Regions from separate parts of the Homo sapiens genome. Here regions 2, 3 and 4 are each linked to region 1. Evidence: promoter capture Hi-C in 16 types of primary human blood cells and fetal thymus (Javierre and others, 2016). All regions are on one chromosome and are shown on one strand. Each heading gives the region's core, a stretch centred on a gene start or on the middle of the fragment in contact. The rest is flanking DNA. Distances are from core to core; before and after follow the strand shown. Region 1 holds the start of BIRC3 (baculoviral IAP repeat containing 3). Region 2 has its middle 28 kb from the start of MMP7. Region 3 overlaps LOC124902740 (a long non-coding RNA gene). Region 4 has its middle 27 kb from the start of MMP7.

What was found. The method cuts DNA at HindIII sites, captures the fragments that hold promoters and counts their contacts. A CHiCAGO score of 5 or more calls a contact.
Region 2: a contact is called between a fragment that was not itself captured here and the fragment with the promoter of BIRC3 in region 1, in 4 of 17 cell types (naive CD4 T cells, monocytes, fetal thymus and 1 more). The highest score is 5.6, in naive CD4 T cells.
Region 3: a fragment that was not itself captured here is called in contact with the fragment with the promoter of BIRC3 in region 1 in 8 of 17 cell types (neutrophils, non-activated CD4 T cells, naive CD8 T cells and 5 more); the score reaches 8.9 in neutrophils.
Region 4: a fragment that was not itself captured here is called in contact with the fragment with the promoter of BIRC3 in region 1 in 2 of 17 cell types (total CD4 T cells and naive B cells); the score reaches 5.4 in total CD4 T cells.

The regions. Positions count from the first base shown.
Region 1 is chr11:102,315,904-102,319,516 of GRCh38, forward strand. BIRC3 (baculoviral IAP repeat containing 3) reads left to right here and starts at 1,581. Exons shown (of 9, transcript NM_001165.5): 1 at 1,581-1,668. It overlaps LOC124902739 (a long non-coding RNA gene), which reads right to left and starts at 1,340. Exons shown (of 2, transcript XR_007062864.1): 1 at 1,183-1,340; 2 at 1-669. RefSeq lists enhancers at 1,028-2,227, 1,132-1,201, 1,212-1,571, 2,373-2,572, 2,833-2,882. The HindIII fragment of the contact is 7,438 bases long and covers 1-3,613 here.
Region 2 is chr11:102,500,857-102,504,237 of GRCh38, forward strand. No RefSeq gene overlaps it. Among named protein-coding and RNA genes, the nearest start is that of MMP7, 28 kb to the right of the region's middle. The HindIII fragment of the contact is 4,304 bases long and covers 1-3,381 here.
Region 3 is chr11:102,478,993-102,482,824 of GRCh38, forward strand. All of the region lies in intron 1 of LOC124902740 (a long non-coding RNA gene), which reads left to right. All of the region lies in intron 1 of LOC102723838 (a long non-coding RNA gene), which reads left to right. Among named protein-coding and RNA genes, the nearest start is that of TMEM123-DT, 28 kb to the left of the region's middle. The HindIII fragment of the contact is 6,416 bases long and covers 1-3,832 here.
Region 4 is chr11:102,555,904-102,559,606 of GRCh38, forward strand. No RefSeq gene overlaps it. Among named protein-coding and RNA genes, the nearest start is that of MMP7, 27 kb to the left of the region's middle. The HindIII fragment of the contact is 4,858 bases long and covers 1-3,703 here.

The DNA of each region.
Region 1 (3,613 bases), core at 331-2,830:
CTAATATGTATTTGTTTCAGAGATATGTGACAGAGAGATGATAAAAGATGTTCAGTACAAACATGTATTAACATTCTGTAGGGGAATTGGAATGTTCAATGACAAAAGGCAATGATAAAATATTTTCAGTTATTAAAGATGACCTGATAATTGCTTCATGGATGATCATGTATGTCAAATTACTATGGTATTAGGATCCATCAAATACATTTAAAAGAGTGCTCTATCAATTTTTTCTGAAAATATCTATGTTTACATTTTGTAGATTCTTGACATGTACAAGAGCTTTATGTTTTAATGTTAAGTTAAAAATGGGCAAGGGAATGCAGAGCTTTTCAAAATTCTTCTGGTGAGTACATAATCAAAAATGTGTAAGGCCTGCAAATTATTTTCAATAATCTCAGGAGTGAGTTGAAAATGGCTTAGAAAGTCTTGATTGAAGCAGACTCAAATGTGGATTAAAATCTCCATATGATAAATACACTTAGTCTTTCTGAAATAATTCCAACTGGAACTTCAGCTGCTATGGACAGCCAAGTCCACCTAAACAAGAGGATGCCTCAGCTCAGTCCAATTGCGTGCAGAATGCACTGGATGCTGTTTCCACAGAACGATGAAGTCTCCAATAATCTTTATGGGCTCTGTCTCTGGTTGGTAATTGTCTTTGATCTACTGGAAGATAGAAAATCAGATGAGCTCTCCAAATCCATCTGTTACCCTGGTACGGATGGCTCTCAGATAAAGTTGCTTAAATTTACTGCTTAGAGAACGTTGAGGGAAATATGGCAGTGCAATTAGACTCAAAGATGTCAGGTTTCCCTGAGAATGGCACTGCAACTCAGAAACCTGCCCTGTGAGATCAAAGGCTATAAAGGAGGGATTTTTTTAAGTAGCCAACTCCACCCTACTTATTAAAAAAAAAAAAAAAACAACTCACCAAACCAAACAAAAGTATTTCCATACAGAAAATTTACCAAGCCATTTCAATCTTTAAAATGGTAAAATAAACTGCAAAGGAGAACTGCATGATTTTTTTCACATACCCCTACATTTCCTTTCACCTCTTACTTTCTTGATCAGAACAAAAAGTAAAAATAAATAGAAATATTTCACAAAGTTTCGATTTTTTTTTTTTTAAATGCTGGACTTCTGCAGCTATAGTAGAAGATTGAAAAACCTAACCTTTTTACGTGTAAAGTGTATGGCGGATGGAGGGTGGAGAACAGGGCATATTGACCTTTTCCAGGCAGGCTAAGCAATGATCGTCCTCTCTATATGGGTTGTTATCAAGATTTCCTCTGACCCACGAGCAATGAAGCAAATGTCTTTCAGTAAATGCCGCGAAGATATGCCACGGTTAAGAGTCATGCTTTTGGGTCATGGAAATCCCCGAGTGGGTTTGCCAGGCCACTGATTAAGAGGAAGTGTGTGTGGTTATTACCGCTGGAGTTCCCCTAAGTCCTAAAAGGAAAGCACCAGTGCACATGCAAACCACTGGGAGGAGTGCGGAACGCCTGGTACAGATAGGGGTGGGGATTTGGGTGACGCATTTAAAAGACAGCGTGAGACTCGCGCCCTCCGGCACGGAAAAGGCCAGGCGACAGGTGTCGCTTGAAAAGACTGGGCTTGTCCTTGCTGGTGCATGCGTCGTCGGCCTCTGGGCAGCAGGTGGGCAAGGAAGGCTGGTGTGTGTGTGTGTGTGTGTGCGTGTGTGTGTGTGTATGTGTGCGCGCGCGCGCGCCTCCCCTGGTGTAAGAGATGTGCCAGCGGCTGGCCGAGGGGCGCTTAGGGCTAGAGCCCGGGGCGCTGCAGAGGTTGAGAGTCAGTGGGTGGGGCGCAGTTATCAAACACCAGGGCCCAAAAGCAGGCTCTAGATAGGTTCCAGGTGCTCAATTTCTATTTCACGTTTGGAGTGAGCCAGTGGAATTGTGAAGTTGTGGCATTTTGATTCGGTTGCCAAGAGTTATCACTGGGCCTTTGCAGGTGCCAAATAAATTTCAGGACAGAGCCTAAGGCAGAGCTCTGGCACAGGAAGGAAGTAAAACGTTTAATGAGCAAATGGACGCATGTTTCCAAGCGGTGGTAGGAAGACAGCAGTTTTTGGTTGTCTTCCTGGTGATCAGCATGGAAACCTAGTAGTGCTCTTACTCTGATCAATACATTGTCGAAGGCATGTACCTGATGCTAACGTAACAATAATATTAAATATTGACTTTATTTGCTATTATTTATTGCTAACATTAAGTACTGCTACCTGCTATGTGCTAGGTTTGTCTCTGAAGACTTTACATGTATTTTTCACGTTTAATTATCATAATCTTAAGAAGCAGGTACCATAATTATCTCCATTTGACAATGAGGAAACTGAGGCTCTTGGAGATTTACTTGTGCAAGGTCATGCTTCTGGTTACCGGACTGCTTGGTATTGGGCACCCCCGATGTCTGACTCCAAAGCCTGATACTAATCAATCACTGAGCTGACTCTGTGGTCATTAATATAAAATTGATAGAAGTACTGTGGTCACTCAGGTCTCAGTCATTTACTTCTTCAACGGGAAGTCTTCGTGTCTACCCCATATACCAAGCTCTGCAGATGCTATGAGTGGGAGGGCAGGTACAGAGATGAAACATATTAATAGTTGCCATTCTAAAAGAGCTTACTGTCTAGCGGGAGGCAGAAAGAAAAGGCACACTTGCCCTCCAGTGTCAGAAAAATGGATGTGCTGCATGCCCAAAGGGTAGGGATGCCCAACAGCCCTGGGACTGGGGAGGTTGCCTTCTTGGTAGGTTAAATGAATGAGTCAGAAGAGGAGAGGCTGGGGACTGAGCCAATCTGAGAAGGAACCACTAGAAATGAAAGAAGAATCCCAAGAGCTTGGTATCAGAGAAGCCCAGGGAATGGGACATTTCTAAGAGGAAGTGTGTCCCAGTGTCAGATGCAAACATTTCCATTGGTTTTAGCAAAAAAGCCATTGGTGTTATTAACACCGAAAGCAGTTTTAAGTGATGCTGACTTAATGAGTAAATGGGAGAGGGAAAATGGAGACATTAACCATACACACATGTCCAGTTTGCTTGGCTGTGAAGAGAAGGGGTGATACAGGGTAGTTGCTAGAGTGGAAAGTGTGGTTGAAAGAGGATTTTTTTTTTTTTTTTTTGAGACAGAGTCTCACTCTGTCACCCAGGCTGGAGTGCAGTGGTGCAGTCTCGGCTTACTGCAACCTCCACCTCCCGGGTTCAAGCGATTCTCCTGCCTCAGCCTCCTGAGCAGCTGGGACTACAGGTGCATGCCACCACACCCGGCTAATTTTTTGTATTTTTTTTAGTAGAGACGGGGTTTCACCGTGTTAGCCAGGATGGTCTCAGTCTCCTGACCTCGTGATCCACTCGCCTCAGCCTCCTGAAGTGCTGGGATTACAGGCATGAGCCACCACACCCGGCCGAAAGAGAATTTTAAAAATTTCTTTCATTTGAAAGTTGAGATAGATTTAAGCATGGTTATGTGAAAGGAAAAAGGCCAGTCGAGAGTGACAGGAATGAGAGTTGAAGCAATGAGGGGATGGGATTAAGAACAAGATTTCTGAGGCAGTAGGACAGTGTAGGATCCCATAAG
Region 2 (3,381 bases), core at 78-2,577, 180 kb after region 1:
TTAAGTACATTCGTATGCTTGTACAACCATCACCACCATCAATCTCCAGAACACTTTCCTTCTTGCAGAACTGAAGCTGTATGCCCATTAAACAATAATTCTCTATTGCCCCTTCCCCCAAAGGCCCTGGAAACTATCATTCTACTTTCCATCTCTATGAATGTTATACTCTAAGTACCTCATGTAAGTGGAGTCATGCAGTGCTTGTCTTTTTGTAACTGGCTTATTTCACTGAGCCTAAGGTCCTCAAGTTTTATCCAGAATTTTCTTCCTTTTTATGGCTAACATTCCATTGTGTATATATACCACATTTTGTTTATCTGTTCATCTGTCAGTGGACACTTGTGTGCCTCCACATTTTAGCTCCCGGGAATAATGCTGCTATGAACATGAGTGTACAACTGTGTCTTTGAGACCCTGCTTTCAATTCTTTTGCGTACTTTCCCAGAAGTGGAATCGCTGCATCATATGATAATTCTGCTTTTATTTCTTGGAGAACCACTGTACTGTTTTCCACAACTGCTATACAATTTTCCCTCGAAGTGTGCACAGAGGTTCCAATTTCTTCATATATTCACCCACACTTATTCTCAGCTTTTAAAAATAGAAGCCATCTTAGGGGATGTGAGTGAGGCAGTATCTTGTTGTGGTTTTGATTTGCATTTCTCTAATGATTAGTGATGTTGAGCATGTTTTAATGTGCTTATCGATCATTTGTATATATTCTTTGTAGAAACTTCTATTTAAGTTCTTTGCCCATTTTTAAATCAAAATTTTTTTGTTGTCAAATTTTAGGAGGTCTCTATATATGCTCTATATTAATTCCTTATCATATATATGATTTGCAAATATTTTCTCCCATTCTTTGGGTTGCCTTTTTATTCTGTTGAGAGTGTTTTTTGATGCACAAAATTCTTACATTTTCATGAAGTCCAGTATGTGCATTTTGTTGTTGTTGTCTGGGCTTTTGGTGTCCTATCCAATAAATCATTGTCAAATCCAATATCATGAAGCACTTGCCCTGTGCTTTCTTCTCAGAATTTTTTTTTTGTTTGGTTTTCTGTTCCTGTGTTAGTTTGCTAAGAATGATAGTTTCTAGCTTCATCCATGTCCCTGCAAAGACATGAACTCATTCTTTTTTATGGCTACGTAGTATTCCGTGGTGTATATGTGCCACGTTTTCTTTATCCAGCCTATCATTGATGGACATTTGGGTTGGCTCCAAGTCTTTGCTATTGTAAATAGGGCTGCAATAAACATACGTGTGCATGTGTCTTTATAGTAGAGTGATTTTTTTTGTTTGTTTGTTTTGAGAGGGAGTTTTCCTCTGTTGCCCAGGCTGGAGTGCAGTGGTGTGATCTCGGCTTGCTGCAACTTCCACCTCCCGGGTTAAAGTGATTCTCCTGCCTCAGCCTCCCAAGTAGTTGGGATTACAGGTGCCTGCCACCATGCCCAGCTAATTTTTGTATTTTTAGTAGAGACGGGGTTTCACCATGTTGGTCAGGCTGGTTTTGTACTGCTGACCTGAGGTGATCTGCCTGCCTTGGCCTCCCAAAGTGCTGGGATTATAGGTGTGAGCCACCACACATGACAGTAGAATGATTTATAATCCTTTGGGTATATAACCAGCAATGGGATTGCTGGGTCAAATGGTGTTTCTGGTTCTAGATCCTTGAGGAATCACCACACTGTCTTCCACAATGGTTGAACTAATTTACACTCCCACCAACAGCGTAAAGCATTCCTATTTCTCCACATGCTCTTCAGCATCTGTTGTTTCCTGACTTTTTAATGATTGCCATTCTAACTGGCATGAGATGGTATCTCATTGTGGTTTTGATCTGCATTTCTCTAGTGACCAGTGATAACGAGATTTTTTTTCCTATGTTTTTTGGTCACATAAATGTCTTCTTTTGAGTAGTGTCTGTTCACATCCTTTGCGCACTTTTTGATGGGGTTGTTTTTTTCCTGTAACTTTGTTTAAGTTCCTTGTAGATTCTGGATACTAGACCTTTGTCAGATGGATAGATTGCAAAAATTTTCTCCCATCTGTAGGTTGCCTGTTTACTCTGATGATAGTTTATTTTGCCGTGCAGAAACTCTTTAGTGTAATTAGATCCCATTTGTCAATTTTGGCTTTTGTTGCATGCAATTGCTTTTGGTGTTTTAGTCACGAAGTCTTTGTACATGCCTATGTCCTGAATGGTATTGCCTAGGTTTTCTTCTAGGGTTTTTGTGGTTTTAGGTCTTACATTGAAGTCTTTAAACCATCTTGAATTAATTTTTGTATAAGGTGTAAGGAAGGGGTCTGGTTTCAGTTTTCTGCATATAGCCAGCCAGTTTTCCCAACACGATTATTAAATAGGGAATCTTTTCCCCGTTGCTTGTTTTTATCAGGTTTGTCAAAGATCAGATGGTTATAGATGTGTGGGGTTATTTCTGAGGCTTCTGTTCTGTTTTGTTGGTCTATATATCTGTTTTGGTACCATTACTATGCTGTTTTGGTTACTACAGCCTTGTAGTATAGTTTGAAGTCAGGTAGTGTGATATCTCCAGCTTTGTTCTTATTCTTAGGATTGTCTTAGCTGTGTGGGCTTTTTTTTGGTTCCATATGAAATTTAAAGTAGTTTTTTTCTAATTCTGTGGAGAAAGTCAATGGTAGCTTGATGGGAATAACATTGAAACTATAAATTACTTTGGGTGGTATGGCCATTTTCATGACATTGATTCTTCCTACTCATGAGCATGGAATGTTTTTCCATTTGTTTGTGTCCTTTCTTATTTCCTTGAGCAGTGGTTTATAGTTCTCCTTGAAGCAGTCCTTCACATCCCTTTTAAATTGTGTTCCTAGGTATTTTATTCCCTTTGTGGCAATTGGAATGGGAGTTCACTCATGATTTGGCTCTCTGTCGTCTGTTATTGGTGTATAGTAATGCCTGCGATTTTTGCACATTGATTTTGTATCCTGACACTTTGCTGAAGTTGCTTATCAGCCTAAGGAGTTTTTGGGCTGAGACAATGGGGTTTTCTAAATACACAATCATGTCATCTGCAGACAAAGACAATTTGACTTTCTGCCTTCCTATTTGAATACCTTTATTTCTTTCTCTTGCTTGATTGCCCTGGCCAGAACTTTCAATACTATATTGAACAGGAGTGGTGAGAGAGGGCATCTTTGTCTTGTGCTGGTTTTCAAAGAGAATGCTTCCAGCTTTTGCCCATTCAGTATGATATTGGCTATGAGTTTGTCATAAATAGCTCTTATTATTTTGAGATATGTTCCATCATTACCTAGTTAATTGAGTGTTTTTAGCATGAACAGTTGTTGAATATTATCGGGGCCTTTTCTGCCATCTATTGAGATAATCATGTGATTTTTGT
Region 3 (3,832 bases), core at 897-3,396, 160 kb after region 1:
GAGATGTGTTATACAATGTAAAGAGAGAAGCATTTTTATTTCCCTGGCCTTAGACTTCCTCCTTTCCCTAATGGAAATTCATCTTGATTTTAAATCCTCTGAAGAGGAAGCAACCTTTAAAGATGTCTCAACTCATCTCCCAGCCTCACATGCCAATGAGATTGAATTGCTACTGTGTGTGGAGCCTGTAGTTATTGCCTGGAAAAGAATAAATCTTTCCTGATAGTAGCTCAGTATGCCCTCTCACAAAATGCAGAGCAAGAAATTAAACCTGAGAAAGAAAGAAAAAAAAAAAACCCTTTTTATCTAAGGAATGCAAACTCCTTTAAATTATCAGGCCCAGAGAGGTATTTATAATATAACAGCAGTCAGGTTTCATTCGCCCTTGAGCTAAAGAATTACCTCTTGAAGCTATATGTGCTATATGAGCTATAGACTAACTGATGCCATACAGCCATAAGATGTCATATACCCTATAGTTTAACAACGTATAGACAATCACTAACCAATGTGTTTCTGTAAATCAGTGAGAATTCTTGATGAACGTATTTTGTAATCACTCCCTCTCCTGATTCGTCCTTTTTCTTTAAAAACTTGAGCCTTTCCTTTGTTCTCCCAAAGGCTTGCCAAGGCAACCTGGAATCAGGCTGCAATCCTCAGCCTTGGCACAGAAAAACTCTTTAATTTTGCCTCAGCTTCTTCCTTTTAGGTCAACAAACTTATAATAGACTGTCTTTTACAGAGGGTGTTCTTGTCTTTATTTCCTTCCTTACTCTGTAATACCTTAATCTTGCCAGTAAAGAAATAAGGAACATTTGATTCAGACAGGAATAAAATCTATTGATTTGTACAAGATCTAAGAGCCCATAAACTCCTTTGTGATTTTTCACCACCCCTTAGTCCCTAATCCAGCTGACATTTCTACTTCAATTTCTGCTGATACAGCCTGATTTACAATGATTGACATCTGCTCAATTTTCTGTTCAATTCCATTGCGCCCTGACTCAAAATTTCTCTTTACATTCACATTTAGAGGGAGAAAATGAACATGAACTCATATAGGTCAGGGATACCATGAGTCCTTTTCAGTGTTTTCCCGAGTCCTTAAAGTCAGCTTAGACTCTGTGTCCTTTACCCAAGGCTCTACTCTTGTTCATTATTCCGATATGATCTTTTAGTTTGTTACTGAACTAAGCAACCCACTCTTCCAGACTCCCTCATTTTCCTAAAGGCACTAGCTCAACAGAGGCCATAAAGCCTTCCAACCTAAACTTCAGTGGGTGCAAATAACTGTTACTTATGTAGGATTGAATTGCTAGGTTGTCATATCTCAGAGCACTCAAAAGCTCGCCCCAAAATGCCTAGAGTCAGTTTTGTGCATTCCCCTCCCAAAAAAACATCTATGTAAATTTCTAGGAGCAGCTAGTTATTGCCACCAATATATTCCTAATTTTGTTGCCTTTGCTAAGCTCCTTTATACCCTCCTCCCAGATATTAATTCTGAGCCCATTTTCTTGGCCTGCAGATCCATAAATCTCCTCCGGAGCCTTAAAATTAACATCCACATCCCCTGCTCTCAGCTAACCTGATTTTGACAGACCTTTTCGCCCATCTCACCATGACACAATGGGATTGCTGCAGATATTTGGAACAATTTTTTTGCCTCTCTGATACACCCTGTAGCATATTTCTCATGTCAATTGGACCCCCATGCCGATGTGCAGTAGCCACAGCTACCACCCTAATAATTGACAAAGCCAGCATATTCTGATATTACACTCCTTCATTCATCCATATGTTCCCCATGCTGCCTGTTCTCTTACAAGTTCATAAGATACAGCACCTTTCTCCAGATGGCAGGCCACCTATGCACAGGCCCTGTTTACCAGCTCCTCCATCATGTTGCATTGTTGTAACACTTTAAATCCAGCTGCTCTACTGCCCCTGCCTGATGATGGAGAGCCTCACTCCATTCAATATGTTTGCCTTGCAGCTATAGAAAAGGTCTCAAAGCCACAAGAAGACCTCCTAGATACTCCTTTAGACAATCCAGACTTATTTCTATTTTGTAATGGCTTCTGTGGATGACATTTCCAGGAAACATAACTGTGAAGCCATAGTTTTCCCTTGTGAAACACTTCAGGCATCCTCTTTGTCCACTGTAAAGTCAGCCCAAGCTGCCGAATGTATAGATCTTGCTAGAGCTGGTGTAATGGCAAAAGGAAAAATTGCCACTATTTACCCTGACTCCAGATATGCTTTGGGTGTCTGCCACACTATTGGCAATCTGGAAGTCCAGCAGATTCTTAACTTCTGCTGATAATCCTATTTCCAATTAGCATATAATTGCTGCTCTATTACAGGCTGTTCACCTCCCTATTCAAATTGCTATTGCTCATTGTTCAGCTCACCCTAAGGAGACTGATAGTATATCTCTAGGGAACGAGAGGGTGGAGAAGGCCACTAAGAATGCAGCCCCAAAGAACCCTCCTATTCTTTTCCACCCTTTATTAACCTGCCTTTATTGCTTACTGGTGTTATTGATTACCAGAGAATGGGCACAGTGCGACAAACAAACAAACAAACAAACAAAAAACCCACAAATGAATACAAAAGAATGTCAGATAATTATCAGGTGTATTATACATGGGGCCAATGGAGTTCCTGTGGCCCCCCTTTTTTTAACTTCTTGGCTTGAAGCACTTATCTCCCTTCAGATGGGACATATGTACAGACAGAGGATAGTTAAGGAATGAAAAGATAATTGGTTTTGCCTTGGTATTTACAAAATTTCTAACTGAATTATTCTCAGTGCACTTCTAATAAATCCCATCAGATTTTTGGAGGAGACCAACGTGCCTCAGCAAGTCCTCTAAGACATTAGGCTTTAGGCTCTTCTTACTGTTTGATTGTTGTCTGTATGTTTAGTGGATGGATTGAACGCTATCTGACTAGATGTGCTGACACCATGACAGTGGTAAAGAAATTAATAACAGGTCAGGCGTGGTGGCTCACGCCTGTAATCCCAGCACTTTGGGAGGCTGAGGCAGGTGGATGATTTGGGGTCAGGAGTTTGATACCAGCCTGGCCAACATTGTAGAACCCCATCTGTACAAAAAATACAAAAATTACCCTGGTCTGGTGGCGCATGCCTTTAATCCCAACACTATGGGAGGCTGAGGCAGGTGGATCATCTGGGTCAGGAGTTCGATACCAGCCTGGCCAACATGGCAGAACCCCATCTTCACAAAAAATACAAAAATTTGCCTGGTGTGGTGGTGCATGCCTGTAGTCCTAGCTTCTTGGGAGGGTGAGGCAGGAAACTTGAGCCTGGGAGATGGAGGTTGCAGTGAGCTGAGATCGTGCCATTGCATTCCAGCCTGGGAGACAGAGCAAGACTCTGTCTCAAAAATAAATTAATCAATTAATAAATAATAAATAACAGATCATTCTTCATTTGGATGTTCTATTATAGATTCAATCAGACCACTGGAACTTATTTTACAGCAGAAATAAAACAGTTGTTTGCAAAAGTTCTAGGATATTCATTGAAATTTAATACCCTATATCATTCCCAATCCTCAGAGCAAGTGGAATGTAAACACTGAGACACAAAAGTAACTTTAGGACAAGTCTGTCAAGAAATTGGACTTAATTGGCTGAAAGCATTACACCTTGTAAAAAAAAAATGCGCAGGGTGCGGTGGCTCAGCACTGTAATCCCAGCACTTTGGGAGGCCGAGCTAGGCAGATCACTTGAGGTCAGGAGTTTGAGACCAGTCTGGCCAGCATGGTGAAACCCTGTCTCTGAAATCCCAGCTTCTTGGGAGGCT
Region 4 (3,703 bases), core at 1,051-3,550, 240 kb after region 1:
ACTCCAAACACAGTGGCTTAAAATAAACATTTTATCTAGCTTTTGGGTATCTATGGTTGGCTGGGATGTTTGGGAAGGCTGGGACTTTTGAGGCAGCTAAAATGGCTTAAATGGCTGACTTCTCTCTGTATAACCTCCCATTCTCTGGAAGACTAGCTGATAATTCTTCACATGGTGGTCTCAGGGTTTCTAACAGCAAGACAACTCAAGCTCCAATGTGTACATATTTTTCAATCCTCTGCTTGCATTACATTTGATAATGCCCTATTCAAGCCCAAATTGAAGTTTAGATTTAAGGAATAAAAAAATAAATTCCACTTCAATATAAAAGGAGTGGCAAATTCACATTTAAGTGGGCACATGTACAGGGCTGGTAAGAATTACTGTGGCCATTTCTGCAAACGGTTTACTGTGTTTAGCATCCCCATTTTTCATTCAGGAAAACAAACTCAAGGAGTAATTTGAGCAAGTTTATAAAGTCGGACAGGATTTGAACATAGAGGAGTGACCATCAACTTTATATTCTTCCCATATATCACCCTGCTTCTAGGTGGAGCGAGCTTCACAAACCACTTTTCAGAGATTGCCAACTCTGAGAAAAAGGAAAGATGTGACTTTGCGACAACCATTTTGCCTGCTGTAGGAAGGCAGTCAATACAAATGCACTCTTTTATGTCATTATGTCAGTGCTCTGGGCATAGTCAGTGCTCTGGGAAGTCTCCCAGGCAGCCTATTTTCCAGTACAAGGACTAGCTTAGACCGAGGCAATGAAAAATTCATGACAAGAGAGTTCAGAAAATGTAGTGTACTTGCTGCCTTCAGGTACCACTTGATTGACTTCTCTCATATTGGGCTCTGCAGTAGCCATGTAATAAAGCAAGGGTGGGAAATTCCATGTTGGAAGCCCTCTTCCTGGGGCTCATCCCTGAAGGCTGTATGGTTGCTGCCTAAGATGGTAAGGGTATCAGGCAGGTTTACGTGGTGTCTGTGGCCGTGGCAGTATGTACAGAGGACAGTGACCATAATAGTGTCATGGAGGGGAATCTTCCTAACGAGATTTAGTTTACTAAGTTAACATTGCAGGTATTACTTGAATTGTATTCCCTGCTATATGCAACTATTAAATTAGATTTTTTCTTAGGGATGATCCTCTTTATATTTTATTGATAAAAATTTAGTGACAATACTTCAGCTATTTCACAGAGTTGTATTTGCATTCTGACTAATTAGTTCAAAATGCTACCTCTAGTCTGGGCATGGTGGCTCATGCCTATAACCCTAGCACTTTGGGAGGCCGACACAGGAGGATCGCTTGAGCCCAGGAGAAAGAGACCAGCCTGGGAAACATGTGAGACTCTTGTTTCTACAAAAAAAATTTAAAAATTAGCCAGATGTGGGGGCATGCACCTGTGGTAATAGCTACTCAGGAGACTAAGGTGGGAGCATCACTTGAGCCAAGGAGGCAGAGGTTGCAGTGAGCTATGATCGCACCACTGCACTGCAGCCTGAGCGACAGAATGAGACTTGTCTCAAGCAAAAACAAAAACAAGAACAAAAACCCAACAACCAAAATGCTGCCTCTAGTTTTCTGCCTATTTGTGTAATGCATATGCATATTTCTGATATGTTTATGTTTGCAGAATGAATAGACTAACCAAAGCTAAAGCACAAATGCAAAAATTGGCATTGATGAGAACTGATTCTACTTACGTGACATTCTGGAAAAGAGAAAATATACGAACAGAAAACAGATCAGTAGTTACCACGGACTAGAGAAAGCTGAGGGAATTGACTACAAACGGGCACAAAGGAACTTTTCTGGGTGATGGAAACATTCTACATCTTGATAGTGGTGTTGGTTACCTGACCTCCTAAACTCATAACTGTACACTTAAAATGGGTGAAATTTACCATATGTACCTCAATAAGCCCAACTTAGGAAAACAATAAAAATAATGATGCCCCAACCATCTTATTTAAATAATCTACATTTTAAAAGATGCTAAATTAGGATAAATTTTAAAATTTTTCAATGAATTTTACTGTTTAGAAATTTATCATTAAGGAAAACTATTCCAGACTTAGAAAACGTAGAGATAGTTGTGTCCTTTCAAACTCATATAAAAGCATTGTCTAATAAGCTGACCTGAGGGACATCTGATGCTTTAGAATGATGTTACTGATAACAGCAGGAGGCAGACATATTCCTAGGCAGACAGGGGTGGGTCTGCAGTGAAACCTGACCCTCAAGCCAAAAACAGCCTGAAGCCTGAAAACCTGGCTCCGGGTTCCAGATAGAGTCCACAACCTAAGCGAGAACTATTTCTGTGTGCCCGCTCTTTTCTGATTGGTTATTTCTGAAAACTTCCTTTTAATCAATCAAATGTTGCCTTTTCCAAGGGTACCTACAGCCCACATCTCCCCCATTCTGAGCCTATAAAAACCCCAGACTCAGCCACATGGAGGGACTACCCAACTTTGGGTAGGGGCTACTCACTTTGGGAACCCTCTCTGTGGAGAGCTCTTCTGCCATTTGATAAAACTCTTCTCTGCCTTGGTCACCCTCTGGTTGGCTGCATAACTCATTCTTCTCGAACGTAGGACAAGAACCTGGGACCTGCTGAATGATTGGTGCAAAAAAGACTGTAACATGTTCCTGGCTGGCTCACTGAGCTGTGGGCATTGACACGCTCCCATTCTCTGGTCCATGGGAGAGAAGAGCGGCAACCCTTCTGGAGCCCAGACCTCAGGACTCCCCAAGCTGGAGCTGTAACACCCCCTTTGGGTTCCACGGTTGCTGATGTCTCTGAGTTTTTCAGGCACCACCATGTTCCTCTCATCCAGATGCTGGTGCCCAAGGTGGAGGCCACTTGCAGTATTCCTGGTCCAGCTGCAGACTTGTACAGAGGTGGCCCCTGGAGTTGCCCCCTACTGCTGTAGCAGCTGGTGCTCCTGGCTTGCCCTTGATGGGTGTGAGATCCAGGTTGGCAGCATGAGCACAGCACAGCCTGCTGGGCCGAGTATGTGGGGCAAGTCTAGCAGTGAGCCCTGAGTGGAGTGAAGCTGGGGCAGGAGTGCTGCCGGCCGCAGAAATTTCCACCTGGAAAGCAGCACCTAAAAATCCTGTCATTTCTTTTGTTAAAATTACTATTTACTATTGATTAGGACTAGATTCTAGGAATTAACATCTATCATTACAGAGTTGAAAATAATTTTCATTTGGTAGAGATGAAATTGATTTCTGTGTGATTGTGTAGGGGAGGAAAAAATGCTCCCTTCTACCCTTCTATGTTCTGTGGCTGGTCTAAGAATTAAATGGACATAAAAAACATTAGTAGGAGAAAAATAACTTTAATTTATGGACATATGCGTGGGAATCCCACTAAAAATGAGACTCAAGGAAGTACCCAGATAACTGAGACATATGTCAGCATAAGCTATAGGAAAAAATAGGGCTTTGGAACTTCTGGGGAGTGGTGGAGGCAAATGATGGGAAGGTGAGAGGAGGAAATGTAGGGTGAATATAGTTTACCTTCTTATGTGGATAAGAGTCTCTCAGGCAATAAAAATTGTCTTAGAGTTGTTCTCTTCCTGGTATGGATACCTTTACTAATAGAAATTTTCTTTGTAAATGTAAATTTTCCTTACAGAAGGGGAAGTTTATACATTATTTTAAACAGGTGAGGGGGAAGTGAAGAGCTTT